Linked DNA regions of Homo sapiens: region 1 is linked to region 2. The links are contacts of gene promoters, found by promoter capture Hi-C in human tissues and cell types (Jung and others, 2019). All regions are on one chromosome and are shown on one strand. Each heading gives the region's core, a stretch centred on a gene start or on the middle of the fragment in contact. The rest is flanking DNA. Distances are from core to core; before and after follow the strand shown. Region 1 overlaps MICAL3 (microtubule associated monooxygenase, calponin and LIM domain containing 3). Region 2 holds the start of PEX26 (peroxisomal biogenesis factor 26).

Region 1 (3,808 bases), core at 1,131-3,630, 260 kb after region 2:
CAGAAGTGTTTTGGATTTCGAATTTTTTTCGGATGTTGTAATCTCTGCATATACATAAGGAGAGATCTTGGGGATGGGACACAAGTCTAAACACGAAATGTATTTATGTGTCATATATACCTTGTACACGTAGCCTAAAGATAATTTTATATAATATTTTTAATAATTTTATGCATGAAACAATTTTAGGTGTGACTGTCACCACGAGGTCTGCTGTGGAATTTTCCACTTGGCCTCTTGTCAGTGCTCAGAAAATTTCAGATTTTGGAGCATTTTGGATCTTGGATTTTCAGATTCAGGATGCTCAGCCTGCATTATGAGGGCTGAATGACCCATGGTGTGTGAGGCGGTCAGCACACAGCCAGGCTTTGGCAGATGCTGCTGGGCCAAGGCCCAGAGAAACAGCATTTCCCTTTCCACCCTCCTCCAACTGAGGTTCCTACAGCAACCTTTGGGGGAAGAGGAACAATGCCCCCACCTTCAGCCGCTCTTCTCTTCCCACTTGGCCCCTAGCATTGAGAAATGCCCACCTCCTGTGTTTGGGGGCCCCGGGCCCCCCCCAGCACCCATGCTACGTGTGGAGAGCCCCCTGGGCCTGGCAGCATCTCCCCTCTCCTGGGGCCTGCATGGCAGCGCCCTGAGAAAGGCAGTACCTCTCGCCCCCGTGAAGATGCAGCCTGTCTGTCTGTCCTCCTTTTCTTCCTTCCTTTGAACCTTTCTGCTTTGCAGCCCCATTGGATGAGAATGACCTAGAGGAAGATGTGGACTCAGAACCAGCCGAGATAGAAGGGGAGGCAGCAGAGGATGGGGACCCAGGGGACACTGGTGCTGAGCTGGATGATGGTAGGGGTCCGCCCTCCCCGCCCCTGTGGTGGGAGCTCAGGGAAGATGAAGGCAATATGCTTTCCAGCAAAATCAAGCTCAGTGAGGCCGCCGTTGGGCCTCCTGGTTCCTTCTTGGCTCCACCATGGCTGGAATGCATCTCATTCCACCCAACCACCACCTACCCACGAGCACCAGGCGACTTGGCCTGCAGTCATCCAGCTGCAGCTGGGTGCCTGAGCCAACCTGTGGCTTTATACAAGGCCTTTAATTCTGCTGACTGGCTCCCAAAGCTACATACCTGGAGATGGGTTCTGCATCGCAGTCTGGTTGTGGGGGGCTGAGGGGGTCAGGGACGAGGCTGGGAAGAATGAGAAGAACCCAAGCTTGCGAGGGGGCGCAGGCCTCAGCTGTGGAGTTGGGGTGGCAGTCAGGGCTACTGAGAGGAGGAGGTGCATAGAAGTGGGCCCGTGAGGCCAGGCCTGCCCTCCACAGGCACACCCTGTCTTTGTCTGTCGCAGCCCATCATGTGTGACTGTTGCTGTATTTTAAAAGAAACAGAGCCCCACAGGCTTTGATGCGGCCCCGCGTTGCAAAGGCAGGAGGGTGCTCTTGGCCGGGCCCCTCAGGAGCGGGGGTGGTCTGGTAGGCAGGTCTGTCCCTGCGTAAGAAGGGCCTCCAGGCCTGCACCTGAGCAGCTGTGTTGCAAATGAGCAAGTGGCGCGGCTGCTCTCAGGTGGAAAAGGAGTTGGCCTCACTTAGGGTGTGCACCCACTTCTGCCCCTTCCCTCTGCCAGATCAGCACTGGTCTGACAGCCCGTCGGATGCTGACAGAGAGCTGCGTTTGCCGTGCCCAGCTGAGGGGGAAGCAGAGCTGGAGCTGAGGGTGTCGGAAGATGAGGAGAAGCTGCCCGCCTCACCGAAGCACCAAGAGAGAGGTGAGCCTGTCTTTGATGGGAGAAACAACTTTCAGAATTCCTACGAGGGCCATATGCACACAAGAGTGGCTCAGGGGCCAGGCGCTTCAGAGCAGAGCCATGGTGCACACCAGCCTCCGAGGTGTGGGCAGCTCCTTGCCTTTTCCTCCTCTGTCCACCCTCCCTGTGCCACAGGCTGCTGCAGTTGCTTTGGCCAAAGGCCCTTTCCTTGCATAGTTTGGGTCTGGGAGAAGGTAGAAGGTTTGTCCTGAAGCTCTGTGTGCAGAGTCTGCACATGGAGGAAGCCCACGGCCTGACCTGGTGTTGACAGGAGCACCTGCAGAGAGTGCCGGGCAGCCCCGGGAAGACGGTTCCAGGACCCTGGCCTCTGAGAGAACCTGTGCTTTCCAGGAGAACTGGGAGCCGACTCAGCGACTCGCCCTCTACCCTCCCCTCCACCCTCTGGGGCTGGCTGATAGGGGTGCCTTCCTGGCACATGGGGGGGCTTCCTCTTGTAAGTCCCTGTGTTCATTCTTTTCAGGTCCCTCCCAAGCCACCAGCCCCATCCGGTCTCCCCAGGAATCAGCTCTTCTGTTCATTCCAGTCCACAGCCCCTCAACAGAGGTAAGGGTTTGGGGCTCGCTGTGGGGTACAGAGAACTAATGGGACCCCAAGGACACATATTAACTTCTCTGTTTCAGGGCCCATGGTGTGGGTCCCACCAAGACTGGGGCTAACATAGCCTGCTGGCCTCCTCATTCTGAGGAAGACTGAAAACTATCATCCTCCTTGTACTAAGTGGAGCTGTTGATGACAGGAGTGGCCTTGGAGTTCCAGCTCAGTACTCTTGGGGATGAGGCCGTCTGGGTGGCACCTACTACCTCTGCCCCACTCTGATCCCAAACCTGAGTCCTCTACCCCGTGTCACTGTGTTAGGTCCACATACCACACACCATATGTTTAATTTAAACAAATTTATTAAAAATAAATAATTTATTATATTTAATAAATGTATAATAAACATAGGTGTATTAAAATTGTTTATAAATATAAATTTATTAAAATTTATGTTTATAAATATAAATTTATTAAAATTTATGTTTATAAACATAAATTTATTAAAATTTATGTTTATAAATATAAATTTATTAAAATTTATGTTTATAAATATAAATTTATTAAAATTTATTAGAACAAATTTATTTTTTATAAATTTATAATATATTAAAAATAATATAATTTTTATGATAAATGGTATAAAACATTTGATATTTTATTAAAAATAAATTTGTTTAAATTAAAGCAATAATATCGATGGGATGGTTGGTTTGATATGACAAATGCATTTTTAACATTATGTTAAAATAAATGTATAACCATTGAAATTTACAACATCTGGCCAGGCGCGGTGGCTCACGCCTGTAATCCCAGCACTTTGGGAGGCCAAGGCAGGCAGATCACGAGGTCAGGAGATCGAGACCATCCTGGTTAACACAGTGATAGCCTGTCTCTACTAACAATACAAAAAATTAGCCGGGCGTGGTGGCGGGCGCCTGTAGTCCCAGCTACTCAGGAGGCTGAGGCAGGAGAATGGCATGAACCCGGAAGGCGGAGCTTGCAGTGAGCCGAGATGGCACCACTGCACTCCAGCCTGGGCGACAGAGCGAGACTCCGTCTCAAAAAAAAAGAAATTTACAGCGTCCATGCAGACAGCCTGTGGTGTGTGAACCACATGGAGAATGCTGCAAAGCCAACTGTGACAGCAGGTCCTGTGGAACATGGTTTGGGAAATACTGTCTGCAGGTCAGATCAGGGAGAAAGCTGGAATATAAGGCCTGCATCTGCTTGATTTAGTCTTTGGGATTCTAGGAAGCATGGAACTATTCAGTGATTTTTTTTTTTTTTTTTGAGACAGGGTCTCAGTCTCTTGCCCAGACTGGCATGGGCAATAGTGCAGTGGCATGATCATGGCTCACTGCAGCCTCCCAACTCCTCGGCTCAAGCAATCCTCCTGCCTCAGCCTCCCAAAGTGCTGGGATTACAGCATGAGCCACTGTACCTAGCCTGTT
Region 2 (3,771 bases), core at 1,151-3,650:
CCACTGCACTCCAACCTGGGCGACAGGGCGAGACTCCGTCTCAAAAAACAAAACAAAACAAAACAAAACAAAATTTTTTTTTAAGAATTAGGAATTCCTAGGACGTAGCAAGCTGCTCTTTCAGCTCTGTCCACTCTGTCATCCCACGTCGCTCCTATTCCCTGTTTCCTCCCTTCTTTATATCTATTCTACTCCTAAATTCCTCCCCCTTATTCTTTATTGCTATGTATGGAAGTCTGGGGAAAAAAAAGTGAAGGGAAAGAATCCGATCTGGAGGGCAATAGTAGGGAAGGGGAAAAGAGTAGGTATTTAGGAGAGGAGATGAAAATCCTCTCGTTTCTGAACCGATCTGATGAGTCAGCAAAGAAGACTTACCACAGCTCCAGGACTTTGGGGGGTAGCTTTTCAGGGACCTGGTAATACTGAAGGACCCAGGAGAGGACTTCTTGCCACCGATCCATTTCTGCCAGGGCCTGGATCCCCACAACACACAGGGAGCACTTCACCTCCAATGAGCTGTCAGCAGAAAAACCAATTTCAGTTAGAAGTGGTTCCCCTCCATTTCCATTCCCACCTCCACCTTGGGACTGTTCCTCTCCAGCTCCCAACTCAGCAGCCATCATCTCTCTCATCCCTGTTAGTATTTAGATGGGCTTCACAATTGGTCTCATGGGCTGCCCTTTCCCCCAGGAACTAAAAGTTCCTGTAACCCTCTTTCAAGAGGCAAGTCAGCTGTTGCTCAACGTTCATCTTTGTATCCAGGTGAAATCAGATTTAAATGAAGAGGAAGGGTAATCCTGAGGGGGAAATAACACACAGCACCGGTGTGTGGCTGAAAAGAGAGCTGGAACTAAGAGTTTGCTCTGTGAACAAATGGGCTTGGAGCAAGGTTTCTGGCTGAGTGGAGGTATAGACTCCATAGCTGGCTAAAAGGCACCACCTAGTAAGGTTCCTCCAGACACCCAGAAGCAAAGCCTTCTGCATTCACTGAAATGAGCTCCCACCCAGTCCCCTAAAACACAGCCAGGGCTCTCCAGATCATCCTTCTTTGTGGTCAACTTTAGCTATTCTACCTACCACCTCCCTAGCGTGGCCTAACCCAAGTTTACAATGCAAAGAAATGACTCCCTCACCTGCCAGACGAGGCTGGTGGCATTAGAAAGAGCAATGCAAGCCCAAGGTTTTTTTCTCCGGATTCTTTTCTTTTTCTTCTTTTTGGTAGAGAAGAGGGCTCATTATGTTACCCAGGCTGGTCTCGAACTCCTGGGCTCAAGCAATCCTCCTGCCTCGGCCTCCCAAAGTGCTGGGATTACAGGCGTAAGCCCCAGCTCCCGGCCCTGAATTAATTCTTTAATCCAGTCCTCTAATTGGACCAGAACGCTGCTCCTGCCATGACCCCCATTCCCCATCATCAGCCAAGGTCAGGAATAAACAACCTTGGGCGGGGCGGGGAGGGCGGAGGTACCTGGGAGAGGACTTTTACCACCTGCTTACTGACAGAACTTAGCACTTAATACACATTCAGCCTTCCCATCATGTCATTGTACCTTGGAACAAGGAGCAAATAATTGGCTGTGGGATCCCCACTAAGTTTTTGTTACACGACTTCCCTTCTCTGTAGAATGGGCACACGATGAGCGACCACCCTCTCGGAGACAAACCACTGATGAAAGCGAGGTGTAAAGCTCCTTGTGGGCAATCTGGGAAGGACAGAACTCCTGAGACCTTGAGCCCCACCACAAGAGCGCCCGGAAATCGGTTCATTTCCGAGCCCAGCACGTACGTGCCCGCGGGTTCCTCTGCCACGGCGTGGTTGGCCAGACTCTGCCAGGCCCGCTCGCAGGTCTCCAGCGCCGCCCGGAAGTCCAGGTGCACCACCAGGAGGTCGGCCGCCTCCTCCAGAAGGTCCACGGCCGGCGCCCGGGCCGGGACCGCGCGCACCGGCTCGCTGCTGCGCAGGGGTCCCCCGAGCCCCCTGAGGGGGGCTGCAGAGGTCGAAGAATCGCTCTTCATAACGAGTCCGGGTCCAAGGCCCAGGTCCTCAGACGTCGGAGTGACCGCCTCCCCAGAGGCTCCGGGATATCCCGAGTTGGCCTGGGCGAAGAGGGAGAGTCCTCATCTCTTTGCCCACACCCCTTCCCGAGGTCGATTCCCCGAGAAGGAAAAGGAAGGGGCCTATCTGAGGCAAAAGCTGGGCTCGCCTGGAGGCTGGGGAAGCAGTTTACACGTCAGATTTGCAGGATTCTTGCATCCCTGGAATACCTGGCCCTAGCTTCTCCGGCCCCGCGACACGTGCAGGAACTGCCTCAGCTCCGGGCTCCTGGTTACGATCAAAGACTCACCTCGCCTCCCGGCAGCGGGCGCGGACATCTTTGCGCTCGCCCAGCCCCGCAGCCGCGCGGCGTCCCGGCGGCGCGGAGTACTCTAGGAGTTGTAGTTCCTCAGCTCTCGGCCCATCGCCTTCTGTAATGGAAGTAGGAGGCAGAGCGCGGACTACAACCCCCAGCACGCCGCGCCCCGGAAGCCGCCCCTGTGCCGTGAGAAAACAAACTGGTGCTACAGCTTCGGGGTGCGGAAGTCAAAACGAAGCAAAACCGAAGCTGTCTTGTGAAATGGAGGGGTCCTCACTAACCAGTTCCAGCGGAGGCTAACGGAAGAAGTGCCAGCAATGGATGTGCAGCTACATGCACGCTTTTAATTCAGAGCTTCTGCGACGGTGGCGATCAGGGGATCTGTAATGTAATGTAATGTCAAGGCTGACGCAGAGCTGATCAAACATTTTGGCAACCTTAGTCTTGAATTGATTCACACTTTCTCCGCGTTGCCTCCGGAGTTTGCTGTAGGGTAATGAATATTGCCTGGTGAGGATGAGGGACTTAGGGTGGAAACCTTCACAAGGACCACTGAGAATATGTTGGTCCCAAGGGCAATGTTCCAAAATGAATAGTGACCCCACCGAGGCGGGGTTGGGGGCGCTGAGCATAAGGGCCTCATTTTTCTCACTGCTCTCTGCCCCATCCTGAATTTGCTGTTAAAAAACAACGTTAAATGCAGATACCAATTCCACTTCCCCACTGTTGTCACTTCCGATCTGTCTTTATATTTCTCCTTATCATTTATCACCATCTACATACCAATGTCTATATTTTACTTATTTTTATTGTCTATTTCCTTCCACTATGATATAAACTCACAAAGGCAGACGTTTTTGTCTCTTTTGTTCACTGTGGGAACCTCAATGCCTTGAACAGTGCCTGTCATCTATAGGTAGTCAAAAAGTATTTGTGGAATAAATGAAGTCCTGGTTTCACTTTTATCTGGTTACAGGGTCCAGACTTCTCTTTCCTCGGAGTCTGGTGGACTTGGTTCTGCCTCAGCTTCCCATGCAGACTTTTCTGCAAGAGAACGGAAATCCCAGAAGATGGATGTGTGCATGTCTGGTGACAAGGGCAGGGGATGTATGATGTGAGCAGGTGCCTGTTTAATCTAATTTCTAGGAGAGCAAAGATTCTAGGGAAGCTTTGGAGTGAATTCAAAGGGTAGAGAACTGGGGAGAAACTAAAGCCAAGAGGATCTAGTACAAATGTGGGAAGCTTGGCAAAGCCCGGGTGAAACAGAATATAATAATAAGTGTGATTTGTGGATCTGTTTAAAATTATTATTATAGTTACAATTTACCAAATACTCTGTTCCCAGTACTTTACTATAAAGTGCATTATGTACGGTATGGTTTTGTTTTTCACAATGTCCTTATTTTACATTGTGTAACTT

The links. Contacts are between HindIII fragments. The study calls those that stand out against the background at their distance.
Region 1: a contact is called between a fragment that was not itself captured here and the fragment with the promoter of PEX26 in region 2, in 3 of the 25 tissues and cell types used here (dorsolateral prefrontal cortex, lymphoblastoid cells and spleen).

Annotation. Positions count from the first base shown.
Region 1 is chr22:17,819,982-17,823,789 of GRCh38, reverse strand. It overlaps MICAL3 (microtubule associated monooxygenase, calponin and LIM domain containing 3), which reads left to right. Exons shown (of 32, transcript NM_015241.3): 23 at 730-843; 24 at 1,620-1,760; 25 at 2,281-2,363. Among named protein-coding and RNA genes, the nearest start is that of LINC00528, 45 kb to the right of the region's middle. The HindIII fragment of the contact is 4,286 bases long and covers 238-3,808 here.
Region 2 is chr22:18,076,619-18,080,389 of GRCh38, reverse strand. It overlaps PEX26 (peroxisomal biogenesis factor 26), which reads right to left and starts at 2,400. Exons shown (of 5, transcript NM_001127649.3): 1 at 1,784-2,400; 2 at 376-516. The coding sequence starts at 2,013. LOC105372853 (a long non-coding RNA gene) reads right to left here. Exons shown (of 6, transcript XR_001755424.2): 6 at 2,494-2,732. RefSeq lists enhancers at 1,577-1,626, 2,107-2,336, 2,667-2,726 and a silencer at 1,987-2,036. The HindIII fragment of the contact is 17,547 bases long and covers 1-3,771 here.